7 separate regions of the Homo sapiens genome follow, and regions 1, 3, 4, 5, 6 and 7 are each linked to region 2. Evidence: promoter capture Hi-C in 16 types of primary human blood cells and fetal thymus (Javierre and others, 2016). All regions are on one chromosome and are shown on one strand. The core of a region is centred on a gene start or on the middle of the fragment in contact, and the rest is flanking DNA. Distances in the headings are between cores, read along the strand shown.

Region 1 (3,167 bases), core at 587-3,086, 3.4 Mb after region 2:
TTTGGGAAAGTGAGGCGATCCGCCTGCCTTGGCCTTCCAAAGTGTTGGGATTACAGGCGTGAGCCACCATGCCCAGCCCGTTTTCTTAACTTTTTATTGTTGCCTCTAAAAATGAGACTATTTGATTATTTTATAGCAAAACAACCACCACCACTACCAAGCAACCTTTAGGAAGTTTTGTAAGACAGTCCCTTTGTGTGAAGATTTTCCCCACAGCAGGTCTAGGAGTCAATTGTCTTTCACTAATACTATTCTTATACAGTGGACAAGGATTTTTGACAGAAATTGGTTATCTTAAATTTATGTTAATTTTCATGGATCTTTTCTTTATTTAGTACTTCTGTCTTATTGGCTCAGATCTTTTCCTGCTGTTACTTTTGTTACACAAATTCTGAAATCCTTGATGTCATTTATCATTTTTTGAATAACTTCTTGTCTCTGTCTTAACAGCTGTATGTAAGGAAAAATTCCTTTAAATTCTACTTATTTGAAAGTACCCATTTTGTGATTCTCAGGCTTTACTCTTTATACTTTGTTTTCAAATTGCTCATTTTTCACGTTATTATACTAGCCTATCATCTCACCAATAATGCAATAATTTTTAAATATTACCCCTGTTTTTCTTTGCTTTGTTTATTTCCTAAGAGTCTACTTCCTTAGATTGCTGTACTTAATTTCTAATTCTCTTTTTAATTTTAGGAAGCTTTTTTTCCCCTGTTGTCAACTTATATTAATAAAGTGTAAATTGTTCTGACTTAGTGTTTGATTGAATGCTTCATCTGTAATTGATGTAAATTTTTACTTTCCTTTGGTACAGCTCCCCCTGAGTATGATGTAGCAATGGTTAGGTTAGTTTATCTCTCCATCCTTGCCACTGTCATGGATGTGATTAACCCAGCATTAGGATTTTGCAGAAGTTAGAAGAAAAATGGAGAAGTGTGGTAGGTAAGACCTCCTTTATAGTTGTTGTAGCTAGGGGATCTCCATGGGTTTTACCTCCGTAGTAATGTTTGAGAAGTGGGCTCTTGTGAATGCTGTAGGGAGCAGGTCCACAGAGTCCTTTCATGCTGAATTAAACAGTTGACTAACAGGCATGTCAGCACACTTTCTTGCATTATTCTCATCTTCAACAGCTTCAAGTCTATAGATCGTTTCTCTTTAGTGGCTGAAAAAAGGGTTTTCATTTATTTTGGTTGAGTTAGCTGTGGCAAACACTGATGTGCCATATGCACTTTCCTTCAATGAAAGACTTGTTTCCCCAATGCTAGGAGAACTGTTAGTAGACAGCCTTCTGTTGCCAGTGTCTTAAAGGATTATTTCAGCTAGAGAGCTGCCTTTCCCAAGGTGTTGCCCCTTCCCAGTATTGCCCATATCCAATAACTGATTGATGTGGAAGTATAAAGGTTTGGCCATCTTGGACCAATTCAAGAGTATTCTCAGGGACTATTTCAGTTTAGAGCTTCGTAATGGTTTTGGGCAAAGATAGCCTTGGGCTGTATCACAGTTCAATTTCTTCCTCTGCCTGCTCCACTCCTGCTTCCTTCATCTCACATCCACAGATGGTAACCCCAAGGGCATTTACAAAAAATTAATATGTAATGTACATATTTTGGGGGTACATGTGATATTTTAATGCATTCACATGTGTCAGTGTCAAATTAGGGTAATAGGGAATTAATCACCTTAAATATTTATCTTCATGCTAGGAACATTCTAATTATTCTCTTTTAGCTATTTTGAAATGTACAATAGATTGTTGTTAACCATAGTCAACCTACTGAACTATCGAACACTAGATCTTATTGTTCTAACTCTATACCTATTAATCAACCCCTTTTCACTCCCTCCTCCCCCTATCCTTCCTAGCCTCTGATCATGACTAACCTATTCTCTATCTTCATGAGATCCACTTTTGTTTATCTCCCACATGAGTGAGAACATGTGATATTTGTCTTTCAAGGGCACTTCCTAATACATATCCTGCATGCTAAACTCCATCTCATAGCCTGCTTCCTAGATAACCCAGCCTGTACCATTAGCTCAGAAGGAATACAGGAGATTTAAGGAATTAAATATGTATGCTTATGTTAATGTCTATTATGAACTTTTTACTGTTTGCTTCACTAAAGAAGGGCATAAGAATTACTAATAGAAATCAGAAGATTATGTCTTTATGGAACTTCTACTTGAATTCTAGAGAGATACGATTCAGCCAGAATGAAGTGAAAGTTCTATTAAGACCACCATTTCAAAGTGCATTCCCAATAGTTAAGGAAATAGATTCACTCGACTACCTGCTTTGATGACATGGCAATTATGATTTTTTACCAGCAGTAGCCATGGTACTTCAGAAAATGTGGCCAGTACATGCCCAGTCCCTCTTAGTGCTCCCTCTCCCCCAAAACTATATTGTCTTAACAGTTCTTTGCAGTTAAACAGTTAACTTTTCTTTGTTAGATCATATTATATCCATACCTGTCCTTTTGAAACTGTATCATCATTACATTACATTAATTCAGGAAAACTTTTCAAGACTGGTCTTAATTTCTTTCAAATCTAATATCTGGTCTTTTTGTCCTCTTGTAACATAACTAAATACTTGAATGTAAGGCAAATAGAAGAAAGGACCACATGAAGTGTGTAGTATTTTCAACCTTTTCTAAAACATCTTTTTCAGCATACTCATGTACCCAGACTTATACCTTTAATAACAAGCAATTGCACATCAAAATCAGTTCCCGTGAGGAGGTAAGTTTAATTTTTTGTTGTTGTTGTTGTTAGTATAGCTCTGATACTGCATTGTTTAATTATTTGTCTGCTGCAAGAATTGGTCATTCATTTCTTGCCTTCCAGAAAACCATAAAAAAGTGTTTTGTTTTGTTTTTTTAATCATATCTCATGTAAGGGAAAAGGGATGAAGTGATTATTATGACCACCCACTTTTCTTAGTTTTATCATATTAAGCTTTGGTTTATTTGGGCTGCTGGTTGCCTTGGTTTTCAGAGAACAAGGAGTACAGAGTCAGGTCTGGGCTTGAGTCCTACAACTGCCATTGACTGTTCTACCTTAGGCAATTATTTAACTGCTCTGAACCTTAGTCCCTGCATAGGTTAGTAGAGCTAATAATGTCAACCCCGTAGAACATAAGGATTAAATGAGATACACAT
Region 2 (3,161 bases), core at 634-3,133:
ACATGGAGAAATCCCATCTCTACTAAAAATACAAAATTAGCCAGGTGTGGTGGCACATGCCTATAGTCCTAGCTACTCGGGAGGCTGAGGCAGGAGAATCTCCCTTGAACCTGTGAGGAGGAGGTTGCAGTCAGCTGAGATCGCGCCACTGCACTCCAGCCTGGGTGACAAAGTGAGACTCCGTCTAAAAAAAAAATAAAAAAAAAATAAAAATCTCCACTTAAGTAATTAATTACAAGCCACCAAGCTAGTATGTTTAGTTTTGTTTTACAGTATTCTGGCACAGTACAATAATAGGCCCAGTTGTCCTGTCAATTCATTCTAACACAGTAGAAACAAAAGCCAGTCTGCCATTGCTTCTGTTACTACTATTACAAGTGAAAAGGAAAAAACATCCCCAGGTTCTTGCTCCTTCTTTCATCTACCTTCCAATTCTCTTCCTTTCCTTCAGTGGTCCTTTCTACCCACTGTTCTCTCAGTCCCATTGCCCTGAATAGTTTATACTTTCACAATAAATCCCTCTAGAAACCTACCACTCCAAACTGAAGCATTCTTTTTTCTATTAACGTACGGACGTCACTAACAACTGATTTTAACAAAATAATCTGACATAACGTTTAGGTGTATTTTGGGCTTGTCTTTTTGGAAGTTTATAGTCTGCACTCACTTTTCCTTCCACATGTTTCAAATCTCTTCCCTTCACATTTTTTGTCACAGTTATAAGCTTCAAAATCCAAGGATGACCCATAAAATCTGGTATCTTCGAAGTGCGTCCTCCGAAATAAAGGACAGGAAAACACTAAGAGGGGTCACTAATTTAACAATAGGGTAATCAGAAGTCAAGCCCAAAGTGCATCAGCCTGTCCTAAAACTACAAACGATTTGTTTTGAAAGAAACTCAAAATGAATTGTGCCTTTGGATGTGAACAGATGATTTCTGGAATGAATGAAAAGCAAGAAAACAGTAACACAGTACCCTCTGAAAAAAGGTTTTTCTCCCCATCTTAAGCTTTTATACATCTTTTAACTTCGCATGTTCTGCATACATAATTTTAAATTAAGTGGCTTCCTTACTTAGTTAACGGTACCATTAAGACAACACTACGTATATTCCTCCACTTACACTCCAAACAACCCTTAAAAGGTCTCGGGGGAGAGCGGTAAAGAAACACACGGTCTGCGGAAAAGGAGAAGGCCTGACTGGCACGTCAGGGAACCCGGCGGCCTCCGCCGTTGTGGGCATGCGCTGTACATGCCTCTGCCCGGGCAAAGAGGCGTGTCCGCGCCATTGAGTGACGCGGCCCGTTAAGTCGTAGCCCTTAAGTGAGCCCGGCTCGACTCCCTCCGTACCAGTTCTCAATCATCTCTTTGATAGCATTAGCTGGCCGCTGGATAACTTCCCCCGCCGCGATGCGGTTCACCACTGTCTCGTCCAGCCGCCGAATAACCCCTGCCACGAACGACATTTTGGCGCCAGAAGAGCCAAGGAAACGTCTAGATGCTCAACGGAAGTGCCTTCAGCCAATCACCTCAGTGCCTCGTGCTCACGTTCTTCCTTCAGCTGTAGCTTACGCCATCCAGCCCCACCCTTCAGCGGCAGCTATTGATTGGACAGCTTGAATGCCAGTCAAATTTCTCAACTCTGTGGGTTGCTGGGTCTCTTCGTCCCTCCCTGAAGCGGCTACTGCCCGCTACCTAGAAGGATATGCGCTTGCGCGTTAGAGATCGCTGTCCGCTCTTCCTATTGGTTCGTTTTTAGGAGCTCGGGGAATACGAAATATCCAGCCAATAGGAGCAGAGATGCCGGAACCGGGCTTGTGTGCCTCTGCTGAGGTGATCTGGCGCAGAGCGGAGGAGGTGCTTGGCGCTTCTCAGGCTCCTCCTCTCCCCTTGCGGCCTTTCTAACGTTGGCCCTGCTCTTGTGGCCTCCCGCAGAATGTGGATGACGCCCAAAAGAAGCAAGATGGAAGTCGACGAGGCTCTAGTTTTCCGGCCCGAGTGGACCCAGCGTTATTTGGTGGTGGAGCCTCCGGAGGGCGATGGGGCCCTGTGCCTGGTCTGTCGCCGCCTCATCGTAGCTACCCGCGAACGCGACGTCAGGCGCCACTACGAGGCTGAGCACGAATACTACGAGCGGTATGTGGCGGACGGCGAGCGCGCGGCCCTGGTGGAGCGTCTGCGTCAGGGCGACTTGCCCGTGGCCTCCTTCACTCCTGAAGAGAGAGCTGCTCGTGCAGGCCTCGGGCTCTGCCGCCTCTTGGCCTTGAAGGGTCGCGGCTGGGGTGAGGGGGACTTTGTATACCAGTGCATGGAGGTGTTGCTGAGAGAGGTACTGCCCGAGCATGTAAGCGTCCTGCAAGGCGTTGACTTATCTCCAGATATCACAAGGCAGAGGATCCTGAGCATTGACAGGAATCTACGCAACCAGCTTTTTAACCGAGCCAGGGACTTTAAAGCCTATTCTCTTGCCTTGGACGACCAGGCTTTTGTGGCCTATGAGAACTACCTCCTGGTCTTTATCCGCGGTGTAGGCCCTGAGTTGGAGGTGCAAGAAGATCTTCTGACCATAATCAACCTGACTCATCATTTCAGTGTTGGTGCGCTCATGTCGGCAATCCTAGAGTCCCTGCAGACAGCAGGGCTTAGCTTGCAGAGAATGGTTGGACTGACCACGACCCATACTTTGAGGATGATTGGTGAGAACTCAGGACTCGTCTCATACATGAGAGAAAAGGCCGTAAGCCCCAACTGTTGGAATGTCATTCATTATTCAGGATTTCTTCACTTGGAACTGTTGAGCTCCTATGATGTAGATGTTAATCAGATCATAAATACCATATCCGAATGGATAGTTTTGATTAAGACCAGAGGCGTTAGGCGACCTGAATTTCAGACTTTACTAACGGAATCTGAATCAGAGCATGGTGAAAGGGTTAATGGACGATGTCTGAACAATTGGCTTAGGAGAGGGAAAACTTTAAAACTAATATTCTCTCTAAGAAAAGAAATGGAAGCGTTCTTGGTTTCAGTAGGGGCAACAACAGTCCACTTCTCAGACAAACAATGGCTTTGTGACTTTGGCTTCTTGGTGGACATTATGGAACACCTTCGAGAACTCAGTGAAGAATTACGAGTTAGTAAAGTCTTTGCTGCTGCTGCCT
Region 3 (3,631 bases), core at 1,093-3,592, 3.3 Mb after region 2:
GACGGAATCTCGCTCTGTTGCCCAGGCTGGAATGCAGTGGTGCGATCTCAGCTCACTGCAACCTCCACCTCCCAGGTTCACGCCATTCTCCTGCCTCAGCCTCCTGAGTAGCTGGGGCTACAGGCGCCCACCACCACGCCTGGCTAATTTTTTGTATTTTTAGTAGAGATGGGTTTCACCGTGTTAGCCAGGATGGTCTCAATCTCCTGACCTCGTCACCCACCTGCCTCGGCCTCCCAAAGTGCTGGGATTACAGGCGTGAGCCACCGCGCCCGGCCTACTTACTCTTCTTTTAGTAGTTAGCCTAGAGCAGAGATTGGCAAACTGTTGCTTGCGGATCAAAACCATCTGCCCTCCTGTTTTTGTATATAAAATTTTATTGAAGCACAACTGCACTCGTTTGTTTACATATTGTGTGTATATAACTGCTTTGGAGCTATAATGTCATAATTGAGTAGTTGCATGGAAAGGCCGTATGTGTATGGTTTACAAAGCCTAAAATATTTGCTGTGTGGTCCTTTATAGAAAAAGAATGCCATCCCCTCCCCTAGGGGAGTGATTCTTAAACTCAATCATGCATCAGAATGACTGGGAGGGCTTGTATGTTAATACATAGATTACTCTAGAGTTTCTGATTCAGTAGGTTTGGGTTGGGGCCCAGGAATTTGCATTTTTAACAAATTGCCCGGTGATGCTCAGCTGCTGGTATAGGGGCCACATTTTGAGGACTGGTGCCATAGATATTACTATGCATCTTTGACTTATAATCTAAAATAAATTATTAATCTAAAATCTAATTATATATAGTTATAATCTAAAATAATCTAAAATAAATTATTGTGTTTACTACTTCCTCAGTAAGGCTCAAATCTTTAGAAACCTTTGACTTTGTTTGCTTACCTTTTAGTAGTACCATTTTATAATAACCTCATACTGGAACAGCCCATGTCTTGTCGGTAGTAGAATGGATATTAATAAATTGTGGTACTTTCACACAGTAGAAAACTATCAGCAATGAAAATGAATCTTCCAAACATTATCCTTCCAACATTGAGTAAAAAGAAGCTAGATACCAGAATACATATTGTATGATTCATTTTATATAATGTTCAAAAATGAACAAAACCAAGTGTTAGAATTCGAGACTAGTTAGCTTTGGTAGTAAATGTAGACTTTTAGGAGTCTCGAGGGTACTTACACGATGCTGGTAATCTGTGGATCTGGATACTGGTTATACTGGCATGATCATTTTGTGAAAATTAATTAGCTGTGTACTTATGATTTGTATACTTTGCTGTATTTTGATAAAAACTTTAAAAATTAATTTCCCAGTAGTTTGAGAAAAGAGTTAATTTTTTTTTTAATGGTAGGGACATATTTACTCTTTTCAATTCTTGTGTGTGTGTAGGAACAGAATACTGTTTCCATGGGAACTTCTGGCTGCTCTGTGTTTTAGTGCTTAACTTTCTGTAGATTTGTATGTCTACTCTTTCTTAGCTGCATTTTTTTTAACATAACAGTAGCAAAGAAGTTTATTTGGAATTGTATTAGTGTTTTTAACAAAGCCGTCTATGTACTGCATAGGTTTTAAGCTTATTAATTTATCCAAACTGACTCCCTAATAGTGTTATGCTAAAAAAATAATTTTTTAAGAGTAGAAGATAATTTTTTCCTGCAAGTTGTATTACTTAAAAACACTTTCTGAAATAGAATGTGACTTTAGAGTGTCTATTTGATTCTTTTTTCTTTTAATAAATAAGTCTTAAAACTTTCTTGGCATATTTTAAGATATATTTAATAGTTAAATAGTTATATATTAAAAATAGTTATTTTTCTTTAAAATATTTAATAATATCTCTTTATAGGAATTATTTAATTCTAGGTGATTGGGTGTTTGTTTAAGTAAAGAAAGTTCATTGAAAGGAAAAGATTCTGGCATATTCATCTGAAGCGTGTGGTAAAGCTGCTTCTCTGCCTCGCCCATGTTGTTTGTCATGGTTGATTTGTGCAGGGTCCTAGAGAAAACCATCTCTTCTCAGGAGAGTAAAATACATTGTGTGTGTGTGTGTGTGTGTGTGTGTGTGTGTGTGTGTGTGTGTGTATGCTGGGAGATGTTTCATTTGCATATAAGTAGATGATACTAGTGTGGTCATTCATATTCCGAAAGGAGCCTTGTAGAATCATTTATGAAAACAAATTGTTTTGTTTGGTTTCTATGGCTTAAATAAAGAGCAGATTTTAAGATTACAGAGTTAATTATGCACAGTAATGAGCACTGTGGCAGTCTATGCTTTACTGATGCAATAAGCATCCCAGCAGAATGAATATTGCATAAAACCTTATTTTCTATTTATATAAATTTTCATGTCAAATAAGAAAAACAGATTTCTAAGCCTTTAGTTTTGAATGCCTTTGAAATTTTGATATAGAATAAGGATTATAGCTAATAGAGAATTTTTTAGATGCATGGAGAATTTTTACCTTTCATCTGGCAGTAGCTGCCATAAGATGATGTCACCTTGTAGCTGATTGGCTGTTACAGCACCTAGGGCAGGGAAGAGAAAGAAAAATGCCGGCACAAACCTCAGTGGTGGTTCTGTGGTTGTTTCTGTCTTTTTTTGATAGAATCTTTGATTAGTATCGAATTTACTGTATTTGGCCATGTGAACTATTGGGAGCCTCCTAGGGTGAGGGAAATTAAGAGCTTTCAGAGGAATGAGGCGACTGATTTGCAAACGGATCTGTGATTGTAAGTTGCAGAATCTGGGTATAAGGAATAAGGCAGGGCGTGCTAGAAGATACACTATGGGAGGAGCTGGCAGAAAATGCAGAGTAGCAAAAACATGAAAAATACTTTTACTACCTTTAGAGTTAAAATGTTTTATGTTTTGACTTAATATGTATAAGTAAGAAGTATGAAAATACTGCATTTTGATTTTGAATTACAGAGGATTATTTTATATGGTGTTAGCCAATATATAAATGCTTATTCAAAGGACCTTTATTTCGTATTATATATCTTACCAAAGTAATGATTTTATATATGGCTTTATTTTATTTTTGAGCTTTAGGGAAAATGGAACAAAGCTTAGTTCTCTTAAATACATTTTTCTGATGCTTTGTGCAGATAAAAGCTTCGATGATGAAGAATCAGTGGATGGAAATAGGCCATCATCAGCTGCATCAGCCTTCAAGGTTCCTGCACCTAAAACATCCGGAAATCCTGCCAACAGTGCAAGGAAGCCTGGTTCAGCAGGTGGCCCTAAGGTTGGAGGTAATGTAAATCCATTTCAAATCTGTTATGCATGCTCCATGCCCTTGATATGGCCACACATACTTGGAACTTCAGAGGAATATGTTTATTCATGACTGCAGCACGATTGCAGATCTGGAGTCTGTTGCAACATTCAGAAGAATACGATGCCCTTTTGAAATGTATAAAATATTGTATACTGCTATTTCCTCTAAGAATGTATGTGAATTAGTCTCTTCTTGAGGGTATTTATTTTTCAGATGCCATTTTGAAAAAGATTTATGGAAGTTTTTTGGGGTTTTTTTGTTTTTTTTAAGCAGAGAACAGGTTTTTCAGAATTTGGCTACTAATTTTCAAGTGCAATAGCTGTTACAGAAA
Region 4 (3,176 bases), core at 496-2,995, 3.3 Mb after region 2:
ACTGATGATATAAGTTTCTGTCTGAATACTAAAGTTTGAGAACCAGGAGCACCCATCTTTGAGAGCAGGAAAAGATGGATGTTTCCGATCGAGCAGAGAGAGTGAATTTGGCCTTTCTCCACACTTGTGTTCTGTTCAGGCCTCAACGAATTGGATGATGTCCACTGACATTGGGAAGGGCCATCTGCTTTACTCAGCTCACCAATTCAAATGATAATCTCTTCCATAAACTCTCTCACAGACACACTCAGAAATAATGTTTTGCCAGCTATTTGGGCATCTCTTGCCCCAGTCAAGTTGACACATAAAATTAACCATCACACATAGTTTACTTGATTGAGGCATAGTCTGAGGGAAATTACAACCAATTAAAGATGGAAGAAACTTTACAAACTCAATACAATGTGAAACACAGAAATACTGAAAAAAGAACACAGAAAACAGTCAATTTCTTTGAATTTTGAGTTTGTTTATTCTTAGTTATTGTGAATATTTCAAATATCAATTTTTGTTGAATTCATTCACTCATTTAACTTAAATTGGCCACCCATTATTTGCTAGGCACCACCCTAGGAAAACACAAAGGTTCCTGGAGCTTTCTGTGTATTAGAAGAGAAAGATATTACATAAATAATCATTTTGTTGTGATTGGGAATAATTGTCAAGAAGATAAACACAGTGTGCTTTTGGAATGTATTAGACAACTTTACCCCCACCAGAATGGCTAAAACTAATAACCCTGACCATATCAAATATTGTGGAGCAACTGGAACTCTCAAGCATTGCTGGTGGGGATTTAATATGATCCAGTCACTTTGGTAAACAATTTGGCAGGTTCTTCTAAAGTTAAACATACAACTTACAAGACCTAGTAATGCCAGTCCTTGGTATTTATTTACCCATGAGAGAAGAAAATATATCCACACAAAAACTTGTGCACTAACCGTTGTAGCAGCTTTATTCATAATTATAAAAAATAGGAAACAACCCAAATATCTACCAACAAGTGAATGGATCGACAAATGGTAGTGATTCCACAGAATGGAAAGCAATAAAAAGGAATGGACTTCTGAGACACCAACAGCGCTGGATGGACCCCAAACGTTATGCTAAAAGAAACCAGACTCCAAAGAAGCACAGACTGTATGAAGTTCAGGAACAGGGAAAACTATGTTACCATGCTAGAAATCAAATTAGAATTGCCTAGGGAAGAGCAGATAATTGGGAAGTGTCCTGGGACTTCCTGGGGTGTTGGAAACGTGCTGTACCCTCACTGGGGTGGCGGTTCCACGGGTGAATACATTTGCCGAAACTCATGAAGTGTACGCTGAAAATCTGTGCGTTTTACTTTAGGCAAACCTAAGTTTTGTTTTGTTTTGTTTTTTTAAGTATTACACAGTGACTGTGGTGGTGGCTGGAAGCAGAAGTCAGGAGTGTATTCTTTTTTTTTTTTTTTTTTAAACCGGCAGTGGGGGCGGGAAAGGGGGATGCCAAGTACTTTCCTAAGTGTTGAATACAAGTGGAGGCAAACTTGGAAACGTTCCACATTTCACAGGGCGAGGGCAGGGTGCCCTGACAGCGGCTAGCAAAGAACGGCCCGCCTCCCAGGGGGCTCGGCCCAACTCGGACCCCAAGTCTCCCTAGAGGTCCTATCGCTCCCAGCGGTTTCCGCAGCCACCTCCACCACCTCCGCAGCAAAACGCTAGCCGGACTGGAGGGCCCTCGCCGGCGTCGTGCTGACGTCACGCGCGTGCTGACGTCGCCCGCGGCCGCGGCCTCTGAAGCGGGCTGGGGATCGGGGGGCGCCGAGTTTGACTAGTTTGGGGGCGGCTGGGCGCTTGGCGTTCCTCCCGCCGCCCGCTGCGCCCCGCAAGCCGCGCCCCTGGCGGGCTAAGTGAGTCCCGCCCGCTCCCGCGGGGACCCGCACTGGAGGCTGGGCGGCTCTCGGCGAAAGTTGGCCGCTCACAGACTGGCAGGCGGGCGGGCGGCCGCAGCCATGGAGCCCCGCAGCATGGAGTACTTCTGCGCCCAGGTGCAGCAGAAGGACGTCGGCGGCCGGCTGCAGGTCGGCCAGGAGCTCCTGCTCTACCTTGGCGCCCCCGGCGCCATCTCGGACCTGGAGGAGGACCTGGGCCGCCTAGGCAAGACAGTCGACGCGCTCACCGGCTGGGTGGGTTCGAGCAACTACCGGGTAAGCGACGGCGGCGAGGCTGGGCTGGTCACGCCCTCCGCGGCAGCCCTTTAATCCCGGACGCGAGCGCCGGGCCGGGAAAGCTCCCGTCCGAACCACTGCTTAAGAGGGGAAACACACTTTGGGAAGCACAGGCGGGCGGATCACGAGGTCAGGAGTTCGAGACCAGCCTGACCAACATGGTGCAACCCCGTCTCTACTAAAAATACAAAAATTAGCCGGGCGTGGTGGCGGGCGCCTGTAATCCCAGCTACCCAGGAGGCTGAGGCAGGAGAATCGCTTGAATCTAGCAGGCAGAGGTTGCAGTGAGCCGAGATCGAGCCACTGCACTCCAGCCTGGGCGACAGAGTGAGACTCTGTCTCAAAAAAAGTAAAAAATAAATAAAAATAGGGGAAACAGGGGGGTCCCGCGTCCCCACTGGGCAGACCGCCTCTTCGTACGCGAGCCGAGGACTGACTTGTGACCACATTTTTCTACACTTGTGGACAATGACAAATTCAGCGATTCCGTGACACGTTGCGGAGTTACTAGGACACAATGTTGATCACTTATTTTGAAAAAAAAATCAGTGAAAGACTTCGACATTTGTGTTCACCTGTGTAAACACTACCCAGACCAACAGATAGGACATTAGGATACGATTTTAGGTTGATGTGTCTTAGTAGATAGGCTAATGCTGGGGGGGAAAAAGTTACAAAGATGAGGTGCGAGAAAGAATGAGCCTTTCTGAAGAGTTGGTGGTAGGCAGGGTGTAATGTAGCCGCGTTGGGAGGCCAGGTAAATATTTTGTATTTAACTTGCCCCGTAGTCGTTAGTAGTTACTTTTCTTTCTTGTCTTCTGGTGGCAGTGTTGCTTTAAAATGCTGACTGCAGCTTCCCATGGATGAAGTGATTCTTCTTAGTAACATATTCTCATGATCCAGCGAATAGGCTGTACTTTGAAACCTTTTATTCAAAAAGAGAAGAAAGACAAACTCTAGAATT
Region 5 (3,629 bases), core at 522-3,021, 3.4 Mb after region 2:
AATAATAGGGAAAACATATCCCTTCCTCCTTTTGTGTTTTACAGGCTTTCATATAAGGGAAAGATTAGTGTTGTAGGAACAATCAGTAAAACTTAGTTGAACTTGAATATTTTTATTGTTTGATATGTTCTTGTCAGACTGGTAACATCATGGTATGGGCAGCCAAGGGCTATTCAACTATACGGAGGGGAAAAAGCTATTTTATAATTACTCATTGCTTTCTTCCAGCTGGCCCTCTCTGCCACCCTCACCACCCTGTAAAGGTGTTCCACACCTTCCATTGTTCCCTTGGAAACATCTTTTTCATAAGCAGCAACTCCCCTAAGTCTTTAACCCCATTTTTAAAGAGTCCGTTCAATGTTCTTGCCTTGATTAGAATCTGATTTTTTTTTTACGCTCTTTAAAGATAAAGCTGTTTATTATTCTCGGCTCTCATACTCATAGTAATTGATAATAAGTTTATTGTGCTTGCACTCCTCATTATTACTTTGTGACCATTATTCCTATACCCATTTATATGAGGTTCATGCTCCCTGACCAGCCTTCTTATTATTGGCATGTACTGATCTTGACAACATTCCAGTGCTGCCTAGGTTTGAATCCCAGCTCTGCCACACTAGCTGTGTAACCTTAGGTACATTACTTAACCCTCTGTACTTCAGTTTCCTCATCTTAAAATAGGAATTATTCGTACATATGCCGAGGGTTATTGTGAGGCTATGACAGTACAGATGAAGTGTAAGAAGTATATGTTAGCTATTATTATTTTCCTAAATTTTCACACATTCTTGATGAATTCAGTTTCTAGACCTCCTCCTCACTTTCACTGTAGCTACCCAGTTCATAGTCACACATTGGATTTTGATATCATCTGTGTGTTACCGTTACGTTTCCAAAGTCATTAATTGAAGTATCTCATTACTGACTAGGATCTCCTTGCTTTTTTAAGTACTCTAACAACTACTTCTGCACGATTTCAAGGATCGTCAGTCCATTGTTTTTTCTACTCACTCTGAATTAATCATCTGTCACTTTATACTTTCCTTCTCATCTATGCTTGATTTCCTTCTTATCTAAGCTTTGATAACCATGGTTTCTTGCAGTAGGACTGTACATATTATACTAAAATCCCTTGGTTCTCTCGTTTTTTTTTTTTCATAGCAAAGTATTAAGCAATGATTTTTTTTTAATACTCATTTTGCAAAACTACAACTGTGGATATTCCCAACTTTTTATTTTCTCTGTGTCCTGAAACCGTGCTGCTAGAGAAAGTCACATGTTAGGGCTCATGATTTTTACTGGAATTCACATAAAATGAACCCTCAACAATCTGATATGCTTACTATGTTTCTGTGATCAGTTATTTCTCTGCTTAATATAGCTATCAGACATGTTTCTTTCCTTTCTATCCATCAGCCAGCCTGTCTCTGTCCTCCTCTCTTCTCTCAGTATATGACCTAGCCCCTTACTTTAGTAAATAAGTAGTCACCATCAAATGGAAACATGATCTTTCTGTTACATTCTTCTCTGCTGTGCATTCCTTCTGTCCTGTTGCTCCAGAAACATGGTCCTTCTTCAAGGGCCAGCACCTCCACCAGTGCTTCAAAGCCTAGTATTTTCTGCTTCCTTAACACATTTACACAATCAGTAATCTCATGTAGGTTCAAGCTCTTTCTGTTTATCTCTTAACGTGGCTGGGTTCTTCAGTTTAAAAAACAAAAGTCTCACTGGACTCCATATCTTCCAGATACTATTTTTTATTTTGGCCCTCACAGTCAACTTTTCCAAAAGAGTTGTCTGTACTTGGTATTTCTGTAACTTAACTTGTTACTCACTTCATCCCACTTCTTTCTAGCTTATTCTTACATTGAAACAGGTCTTGAGTAAATCACTGATCATCGTTGAGGCACCAAAATCAACCAGTTTGGGATTTTTTTTTTTCTTGTTCTTCTACCAGTATTTAGCACTGTTGACTATAGTCACTGTTTTGTTGTTTAATTTTAGGTGCTTGTGATATGATGTTCTTCCATTTTATTCCCCCTACATCTTTGTCCACTTCATCTCTGTCTCTTTATAGGCACATCCTTCTCTACTTGCCTGTTGAATATTGGAATTTCTTAAGGGTTAGTTCTGGGCCCTGTCTTCTCATTCTCTATTTTCTTACTGAGTCACCTCCTTCAAACCCCTGGCTTCAGTTCCCACGTTTATCTAGATAATGCCGAGATTTTAACCTCCAAGCCAGACCTCTCCTGAGTTCCGAAATGATTTATCCACTGTGATTGTTTACCTGACACCCCCTTTCAGATGTCTCAAAGACACCTCAAACTTATCCTGTTTGAAATTGGAATAATGGTCTTCCAGTATTCTGTGTGTGTAAACCATTACTTAATCAATTACAAAAGTTAGAAACCTAGGAATCACTCTACTGCAACAGACACCTAACTTAGTGGGTTTTCAAGCTTCTTTTGCTTGTATGCCTGCTAAAAGAATGTTTGAAGAATTATGTACCCCCTCACTGAAGTACGTTTTTGAGTTGACTCTCTTCTTCCTTATTGGGGGAAGGGGAACCTTGCATTGTGTTCCAGGGGAATGCATCATAAGATTAGGGGTGGAAGAAGGTTCTGGAAAACGGCAGAGGGGTATTGTGAAGAGAAGGTGAGAGGCAGGAAAGAGCTAGCTCAGAAGTTTCTTTAACCACATAACAGTGTTACCTGGTCACCATCTACCTCTTCAGCCTTGTCTCATGCCTTGTTCTCCTTTGCATTTACACGCATTCTTTCTTTCTCTCTTGCTCTTGCTCTTACTCTCTGTTAAGCAAAAGGTGAATTTAATAGCTGTTGAAAGTGAAAGATGTAAGGCGGTTTGATGAAGGTACTCAGTTGGTATCACCAGGAGTCTATTTCTCATTTCTAATTCCTCTGCATTGTCTCCTTCCATGGTCAACAATATGGTTATAGCTGTTCCATCCTCACACCTGGGTCATTGGCTCTTCTCCTAGTCCCTTTATACTTTTTATTCCTTACTCTGGCTTTCTTTCATTTACTTTGTCACAGAGCCTTTGCACATGCTATTAACTCTCCAGGGAAAGCAAATCTGTCCACTTTGCCTAATGATATCCTACACATTCTTTAGCTCTCAGCTCAAGCTTGACTTTCCTCATAGGTCAACCTCCTCTTATGTATAAACTTTCATTTTCTTTTGTGGGACTTGCTACTTGTAGTTTCATATTTGATGTCATTTGATTGATTTTTAAAATCTCCCTGAGTGTATTGTACTCTCCATAAGGCAAAGACCACGTCTATCTATTTTGGCTAACCATAGTTTCTCCATTGCCTAGCATAGTACCTCTGTGTTATGTGAATATTTGTTAAATGAATGAAAGAATAATGGTGAACAGCAGTTTGACAAAGGGTTGGCTCCAGAGGAAACAAAATGTAGCTATCCTGACTACAGTTTATCATGACTGAGGAGAGAAAATTAAAACTAACTTATAACATGTCCTTTTTGTAATATTGGGTAATATGTATATGAATGCAATAAGATAGGTTATACACTTGAAGTCATTTTGAGAAATTAGACTTTTATTTATTCTTAGATATTTTACATCTTGTTTTTAAAATTACAAAGCA
Region 6 (3,534 bases), core at 83-2,582, 3.3 Mb after region 2:
TTTCATTGATCTATATATTTGTTTGTTCTTTTGAGACAGGGTATTACTCTGTTACCCAGGCTGGAGTGCAGTGGTGCATTCATAGGTCACTACAGCTTCAAACTTTTGGGCTCAAGCAATCCTCCTGCTTCAGCCTCTTGAGTAACTGGTATTATATGCCTGTGCCACCATGGCCAGCTACTTTTAAAATTTTTTGTAGAGACAGGTTCTCGCTATGTTGCCCAGGCAGGTCTCCAGCGATCCTCTTGTCTCAGCCTCCAGAAGTGCTGGGATTACAGGCATGTGCCTCTTACAGCCCCCACATTGTCTTGATTACTGTAGGTTTATATTAAGTCTTCAAATCAGATAATTGCACTGTAACTTCATTTTTCTTACTCAATATTGATATGAGTATTCTAATTCATTTACCTTTCTATATACATTTCAGGATCAGCTTGTCGATTTCTGCATCAAATTCTACTGGAATTTTGATTGGGATTGCATTCACACAAGAACAATTTGTGGGGTTTCAAATCTTTATAATATTAAGTTGTCCAATTCATGAACTTGGTGTATATATGTATGTGTATGTGTGTATATACCATTTATTTAGCTCTTTTTCTATCACTTTCATTAGCATTTTGTGATTTCAGCATGTAGATCTTGGACTTAATTGTTAGAATTATATCTAAGTATTTTGTGATTGTTGTTAGTTTTGTAAATGATACAGTATTTTGAAAATTCCCAATTGTTGAGTGCTGGTCTGTAGGAACACAGTTTGTTTTGTTTTATTTTTTTGAGACGGAGTTTCACTCTTGTCACCCAGGCTAGAGTGCAATGGCGCGATCTCAGCTCACTGTAACCTCTGCCTCCCAGGTTCAAATGATTCTCCTGCCTCGGCCTCCCGAGTAGCTGGGATTACAGGCACCCACCACCACACCTGGCTAATTTTTTTTGTATTTTTTAGTAGAGACAGAGTTTTACCATGTTGGTTGGGCTGGTCTCGAACTCCTGACCTCAGGTGATCTGCCTGCCTCACCCTCCCAAAGTGCTGGGATTACAGGCATGAGCCACCGCACCTGGCCCACAATTGATTTTTTTATAGTGACCTTTTATCTCATGACTTTACTAAACTCAATAGACCTAGTATTTGTTTTAGAGTGTCAGTTAGTTTTTAGAGTAATTAAATACATATATTTTTAAGGTTTTTTTGTTTGTTTGTTTGAGACAGTGTCTTGCTTTGTTGCCAGCTGGAGTGCAGTGACACAATCTCAGCTCACTGCAACCTCTGCCTTCCAAGTTCAGATGATTCTCGTGCCTCAGCCTCCTGAGTAGCTGGGATTACAGGTATGTGCCACCACACCCAGCTAATTTTTGTATTTTTAGTAGAGATGGGGTTTTGCCATGCTGGCCAGGCTGGTCTCGAACTCCTGACCTCAGGTGATCTTCCTGCCTTCCAAAGTGCTGGGGTTACAGGCATGAGCCACTGTTCCCAGCTTATTTTTAAGGTTTTAAATATTTATTTTAATTTCAACTATTTCCTGTTATTTCTTAGTGTAGATCTAAGTTTTTGTCTGCTGTCATGTATTTTTTTCCCTGAAGATTTTCCCTTAACATTTCTTGTGATACAGGTCTCTTGTAATGAATTCTATTAGATTTTGTTTGTTTGAAAAACTTTTTATTTCTCCTTTAGTTTTAAAATGTCTTTTAAAATATCTTTTATTTTAACTAGGTATAGAATTATGAAGCGACAGCATTCTTTTTTTTTTTTTTTTTGGTAGTACAATAATCTGTGGTTTTGCTTTCTACGGTTTCACTTACCTGTGGTCAGTTGTAGTCCCAAAGCAGGTAAGTACAATATAAATTTTAAGAGAGACAAGACACACGTAACTTTTGTTATAGTATATTGTTATGGTTATTATACTTTATTATTGTTAATCTTTTACTGTGCCAAATTTATAAATTAAACTTTATCATAGGTATATATTTGTAGGAAAATTTATATATAGGTCTCAGTACTGTCTGTGGTTTCAGGTATCCACTGGGGTCTTGGGATGTATTACTTAAACAGATAAGGGGGGACTACTATACTGTAACAATGTCATTCCATTGTCTCCTTACTCTCATACTTTTTGGCCGGAAATCTTCTGTACTTGTGTATTTAATGTCCTTTTGTTTTTTTCTCATTGACTTTAAGATTTTTCTTTCCTTTGGTTTTAACAGTTTGAATAGGATGTGTCTTGGTGTTTTTTGGAATTTTCTGTTTGGGGGTTTTCTGAGACTTAGATGTATGGTTTGATGCCTTTCATTATTTTTCCTATATTCTTGGCCATTTTCCCTCCAAATATTTCTTCTACCTTGTTCTCTCTTCTAGAATTCCTATGACATTATGTTGGGCAATTTAGTATTATCCCACTGCTCTTGAATGCTTTGTCTCTCCCCTTCCCTTTTTGTTCCTTTTTGTATTTCAATTTGAGTAATTTGTATGAACGTATTTTCAGATTCCCTGATTCTTTCCTTCTCTGTATCAAATCTTTTGATGAACCCATCAAAGGCATCTTAATCACTTTTACCTTGCTTTTAATGCATTTAAAAAATTATTTGTATTTTGACTCTGCCTTAAAGTTTTGGTCTCTCTGCTGGAATTCCTTTTATTCCTGCATGTTGTTGGCTCTTTTAACTAGAACATTTACTACATTAATCACAGTTATTTAAATGGTCTGATAATTCCAGCTTTCAGATTATCTATGTATTTTGTTCCATGCTTTATTCTTGATATTGGTATTTATCCCTCCTTGCTTTTTTGTGTGTCTCATAATGTGTGGTTGAAAACTGGACAGTGTTTAAGATGTTTAAGAGCAAGTTAAATAGTACTTATGCCTGGAGATGACATGCCTTTTTTCTGCTAAACTTACATATAGTGTGGAGCTATGCAGTCAGTCTAGTCAGGAGTTGAGTTAGGTTTCAATGTTATGATTGCTATAGTTGCTTTAGTTCATATTTGCTTCAGTTTTTTTGTCACTTGGTTAATTTTATGAAGGGTTTTCCTCAAGTTTCTACTCAACTCTGCACTTTAGGTTTTCCCTATTTTCTTGTGCTTCATAGAGGATTCTTCTTCGTGTTCTTGCCCCTTCCCCACTGGTAGACTGCTGTTGCTTCTTATTTCATGCTTGCTGGTCTGGTTGGGGGAAACAGCGTCATTCTTTGTTTTTCTGGTCTAGCTTCAGTCTTAGGAAGCTTTTTGTTCTGAGTCTTGGGGTAAGGCTTTATAAAGACCATGGCTTTCCCCAACTAGAGACCTTTAATTATATGGGCCCCAGGATGTTTTTCTGCTCCTTCCTCTGGGGTAGAAGGCTTTTTATCTTTTTCCTCTCCTTAATAGCATTGAGTTTTACCTGTGCCTTAGGCGTAACAGTGTTTGATATCCTTCACTGAGGAGCTTCAAACTTTTATTTCTTAGCTTCAAGCTTTTGTTTCTTACGGGACAAGGGTACTAGGAGCCTTTGTGCCTTTCCTGCACAGGCAGCGGTTTCCTTCCCCCAGGACTGTACCACC
Region 7 (3,365 bases), core at 591-3,090, 3.2 Mb after region 2:
AAAGATAGAAAACTACTCCAGTCCAAACAGCCCCCAGCCTCTGCTACCTCTGCCCCACAAGGTGTCACTGTTGAGACACAGAATATCTACTACAGCACGACCTTTCGCAGGATGGAGCTATTAAAATTTAAATGCTCTGGGCTGGGCGCGGTGGCTCGTGCCTGTAATCCCAGCACTTTGGGAGGCCAAGGCAGGTAGATCACGCGCTACTCGGAAGGTTGAGGCAGGAGAATCGCTTGACCCCGGGTGGCGGAGGTTGCAATGAGCCGAGATCACATCACTGCCCTCCAGCCTGGCTGACAGAGCGAGACTCTGTCACCAAGAAAAAAAAAATGTAAATGCTCTGACAATCTATGGTTCCAAAGTTACAAACACAAAGGGCTTTTTTCCTAGGACACATGTGTGATGCTAGAGTAAAATTTGTAGGAACTGAGCTAGAAACTTGTTGTTGCTGCCAGGATTGTTAAGTCCAGGTAAGCAGTCCAGGCTCCCCTCTCCATGGCGAATTTCTCCTGTCTTTTGCTGCTGCCACGTCAGGTCAGGGCCATTCCAGTCCAGAGGTGATATAGCAATATTAACCCTCCTAAAGGAAGTGATCAGGGGTCTCAGTAACTGCCTTCCCAGAAGCTTAGTCTTTGGGAAAATTTGCTGACTTTCTCCCAGCAGCCTTTGAACTTCATGTACCAAAGAAAATGATGAAAAGAGCTTCATTGTCAATTCCCACATGTCCAGCTACAACCTTCCCCTGTGTTTCCTTACATCTACCTAATTAAAATGATCCCTCGGTATGTCTCCCAGAACAGAGGGCTATTAGGGGATCTCCACTAACGGAGATGCTTTACTTATTCGAGGCAGTTCAGCCCAGTGGATAAGAATGTCTGGAATCCTGACTTCCAGAGTTTAAATTCTAACTACAATATTTATCAGCTGTGTCACTCACTCTAGGCCGTTCACTCAACGTCTCTAAGCCTCAGTCTTCACACCTAAAGATGATAAAGAATACTACCTACCCCAAAGGGCTATCATGGGAGTTAAATAAAATACATTAAATACCTGACAGGCTGCCCAGAACACAGTAAGTACTCAATGTTAGTTACTGTTGCTTTTTTTTTTTTTTTTTTTTTTTGTAATTTTATCACTATCATTGCTGAAAGCCTCTTTTTTTTTTTTTTTTTTTTTTTTTTTAATAGTAATGGGGTCTTGCTTTTTGCCCAGGCTGGTCTTGAGCTCCTGGACTCAAGTGATTCTCCTGCCTTAGCCTGCCAAAGTGCTGGGATTACAGGTATGAGCCACCATATCTAGCCAAAAGCCCTTCTTTGTATCTCCTCAATGTTTAGAAGTAGAAATAGTTCATCTCTAGAAAGAAAACATTCTATTAATAAATGATGGACAGAGTGCAGAGAGTTTTTTTTCTCACCAAATCTCATTTCACTTCCCCAAGTCAACCTCTTACCAATAACGGCCACTTTTTATATGATAAATTTAATATGATATCTTGCTGTTAAAAAAAAAAGTTTAAATGAAATTAACACATTTATTTGAGTAAAAGAATGATTCATGAATTGGGAAGCACCAAGACCAAAAGAGGTTATGGGCTCTGCTCTGGAAGCACCTACCTATTATAGGCTGAACACAGAAGCAAAGTGAAGAAATTACCTGAATTGCTACAGCTAAGTGTTTGCCTTATTTGGGTATAATCTGATGGGAGACACCTAGTTATATAGCCAATTCACTCAGTGGCTGTTTGTGATTGGTTAGGGCTGTATTTTTGTTTGTCTATTTAAGTCAGTTATAAGAAATACCTCTAAATTAGGCTTTGGGCTGGGCACGGTGGCTCACACCTGTAATCCCAGCACTTTGGGAGGCCGAGGCGGGCAGATCACTTGAGGTCAGAAGTTTGAGACCAGCTAGGCCAACATGGTGAAACCCTGTCTACCAAAAATATAAAAAATTAGCCCGGTGTGGTGGCACGTGCCTGTAATCCCAGCTACTCGGGAGGCTGAGGCAGAAGAATCGCTTAAACCCGGGAGCCAGAGGTTGCAATGAGCTGAGATCATGCCACTGCACTCCAGCCTGGGTGACAGAGTGAGACTCCATCTCATAAAAATACATAAATACATAAATAAACAAATAAATAAATAAATAAGGCTTCAGCTTGCTTATGTAAGGGCTCAGGGTGCAGAGACAACCTCAGGCTAGTGGCCTTCTTATTTGCTTTAAAACTGCTGAAACATCCCATTGCCATGGGAGTGACTTAAGCCAATTGTCTATTTTTGAGTATTTAGGTTGTTTCTACTCTTTTTTTCTTTTCTTTTCTTTTTTAAGAGAGACAGGGTCTCACTCCATCACCCAGGGTGGAATGCAGTGGTGCAATCATAGCTCACTGTAGCATCAAACTCCTGAGCTCAGATGATCCTCCTGCTTCAGCCTCCTGAGTAGCCAGTACTACAGGCAGACACCACCATCCCCAGCTAATTTTTAAACTCTTTGTAGAGATGGGGTCTCGCTATGTTGCCCAGGCTGGTCTTTAACTCCTGGCCTCAAACAATCCTTCTGCTTCAGTCTCCTAAAGCACTGGGGTTACAGATGTGTCACCCCACCTGACCTGTTTCCACTTTCTTGATGTTGTAAACAACATGGCCAAGATGGTAGTTAACTCTTTATGTGCATTTGTCATTCATTATTATTTTGTTGGATTATTCCAACAAAGTACTGATTATTCTAAGTACTGATTTGTTTTTTTTTTTGAAACAAGAGTCTCACTCTGTCACCCAGGGTAGAGTGCAATGGTGCAATCATAGCTCACTGTAGCCTCAAACTCCTGGGCTCAAATGATCCTCCTGCCTCAGCCTCCCAAGCAGCTAGGACTTACAGGCACATCCACCATGCCTAGCTAATTGTTTTATTTTTTGTAGAGACAGGGTCTCACTATGTTGCACAGGCTGGTCTCCAACTCCTGGGCTCAAGTGATCCTCCCACCTCAGTCCCAACGTGCTCGGATTACAGGCCTGAGCCACTGTACCTGGCCTAACATGGACATTTTTTAAAGCTTTTGATCTGGCTTACGGAATTTTGCCTCATCTAGAAGAGATGGTTGACTGCATTTCTAACAACAGTGTATGAAAGTACTGAAACCTAACCAACATTAGCTATTTTGAGTTTTTTTTTTAGTCTTCACCAATTAAAAAGATGAAAAATTGTTCCTCACAGTTTTAATTTGCATTAATTTTATTTCTAGTAAGTCTATGGATTTTTCTATATGTTTCTTGGCTGATTTTTTGTACACTTTTGTACTTTTTTCCTTTTTTTCCCTTTCAGTTCTAGACCTACAGATGTACTCTTTAAAATGGCTATTTTGAATATTT

Evidence for each region. Contacts are between HindIII fragments. The CHiCAGO score rates a contact against its expected background, and 5 or more counts as called.
Region 1: a fragment that was not itself captured here is called in contact with the fragment with the promoter of EPM2AIP1 in region 2 in 1 of 17 cell types (M2 macrophages); the score reaches 10.3 in M2 macrophages.
Region 3: a fragment that was not itself captured here is called in contact with the fragment with the promoter of EPM2AIP1 in region 2 in 4 of 17 cell types (M2 macrophages, M1 macrophages, M0 macrophages and 1 more); the score reaches 17.8 in M2 macrophages.
Region 4: a contact is called between the fragment with the promoter of CLASP2 here and the fragment with the promoter of EPM2AIP1 in region 2, in 1 of 17 cell types (M2 macrophages). The highest score is 7.4, in M2 macrophages.
Region 5: a fragment that was not itself captured here is called in contact with the fragment with the promoter of EPM2AIP1 in region 2 in 1 of 17 cell types (M2 macrophages); the score reaches 10.3 in M2 macrophages.
Region 6: a fragment that was not itself captured here is called in contact with the fragment with the promoter of EPM2AIP1 in region 2 in 3 of 17 cell types (M2 macrophages, M0 macrophages and naive B cells); the score reaches 6.3 in M2 macrophages.
Region 7: a contact is called between a fragment that was not itself captured here and the fragment with the promoter of EPM2AIP1 in region 2, in 1 of 17 cell types (M2 macrophages). The highest score is 8.1, in M2 macrophages.

The regions. Positions count from the first base shown.
Region 1 is chr3:33,611,582-33,614,748 of GRCh38, reverse strand. CLASP2 (cytoplasmic linker associated protein 2) reads left to right here. Exons shown (of 39, transcript NM_001365631.1): 13 at 2,678-2,748. Among named protein-coding and RNA genes, the nearest start is that of CLASP2, 110 kb to the left of the region's middle. The HindIII fragment of the contact is 2,261 bases long and covers 706-2,966 here.
Region 2 is chr3:36,991,853-36,995,013 of GRCh38, reverse strand. EPM2AIP1 (EPM2A interacting protein 1) reads left to right here and starts at 1,883. Exons shown (of 1, transcript NM_014805.4): 1 at 1,883-3,161. The coding sequence starts at 1,937. MLH1 (mutL homolog 1) reads right to left here and starts at 1,496. Exons shown (of 19, transcript NM_000249.4): 1 at 1,351-1,496. The coding sequence starts at 1,466. RefSeq lists enhancers at 795-1,306, 1,223-1,442, 1,813-2,162, 2,283-2,602, 2,633-2,712. The HindIII fragment of the contact is 4,668 bases long and covers 1,012-3,161 here.
Region 3 is chr3:33,644,400-33,648,030 of GRCh38, reverse strand. CLASP2 (cytoplasmic linker associated protein 2) reads left to right here. Exons shown (of 39, transcript NM_001365631.1): 8 at 3,128-3,274. Among named protein-coding and RNA genes, the nearest start is that of CLASP2, 72 kb to the left of the region's middle. The HindIII fragment of the contact is 1,495 bases long and covers 1,595-3,089 here.
Region 4 is chr3:33,716,823-33,719,998 of GRCh38, reverse strand. CLASP2 (cytoplasmic linker associated protein 2) reads left to right here and starts at 1,745. Exons shown (of 39, transcript NM_001365631.1): 1 at 1,745-2,191. The coding sequence starts at 1,997. RefSeq lists an enhancer at 1,384-1,473 and a silencer at 1,674-2,013. The HindIII fragment of the contact is 12,344 bases long and covers 1-3,176 here.
Region 5 is chr3:33,627,323-33,630,951 of GRCh38, reverse strand. All of the region lies in intron 9 of CLASP2 (cytoplasmic linker associated protein 2), which reads left to right. Among named protein-coding and RNA genes, the nearest start is that of CLASP2, 89 kb to the left of the region's middle. The HindIII fragment of the contact is 1,381 bases long and covers 1,081-2,461 here.
Region 6 is chr3:33,698,094-33,701,627 of GRCh38, reverse strand. The region is part of intron 1 of CLASP2 (cytoplasmic linker associated protein 2); the gene reads left to right. Among named protein-coding and RNA genes, the nearest start is that of CLASP2, 18 kb to the left of the region's middle. RefSeq lists a silencer at 2,005-2,205. The HindIII fragment of the contact is 3,773 bases long and covers 1-3,218 here.
Region 7 is chr3:33,784,296-33,787,660 of GRCh38, reverse strand. No RefSeq gene overlaps it. Among named protein-coding and RNA genes, the nearest start is that of PDCD6IP-DT, 13 kb to the left of the region's middle. RefSeq lists a silencer at 141-200. The HindIII fragment of the contact is 2,422 bases long and covers 630-3,051 here.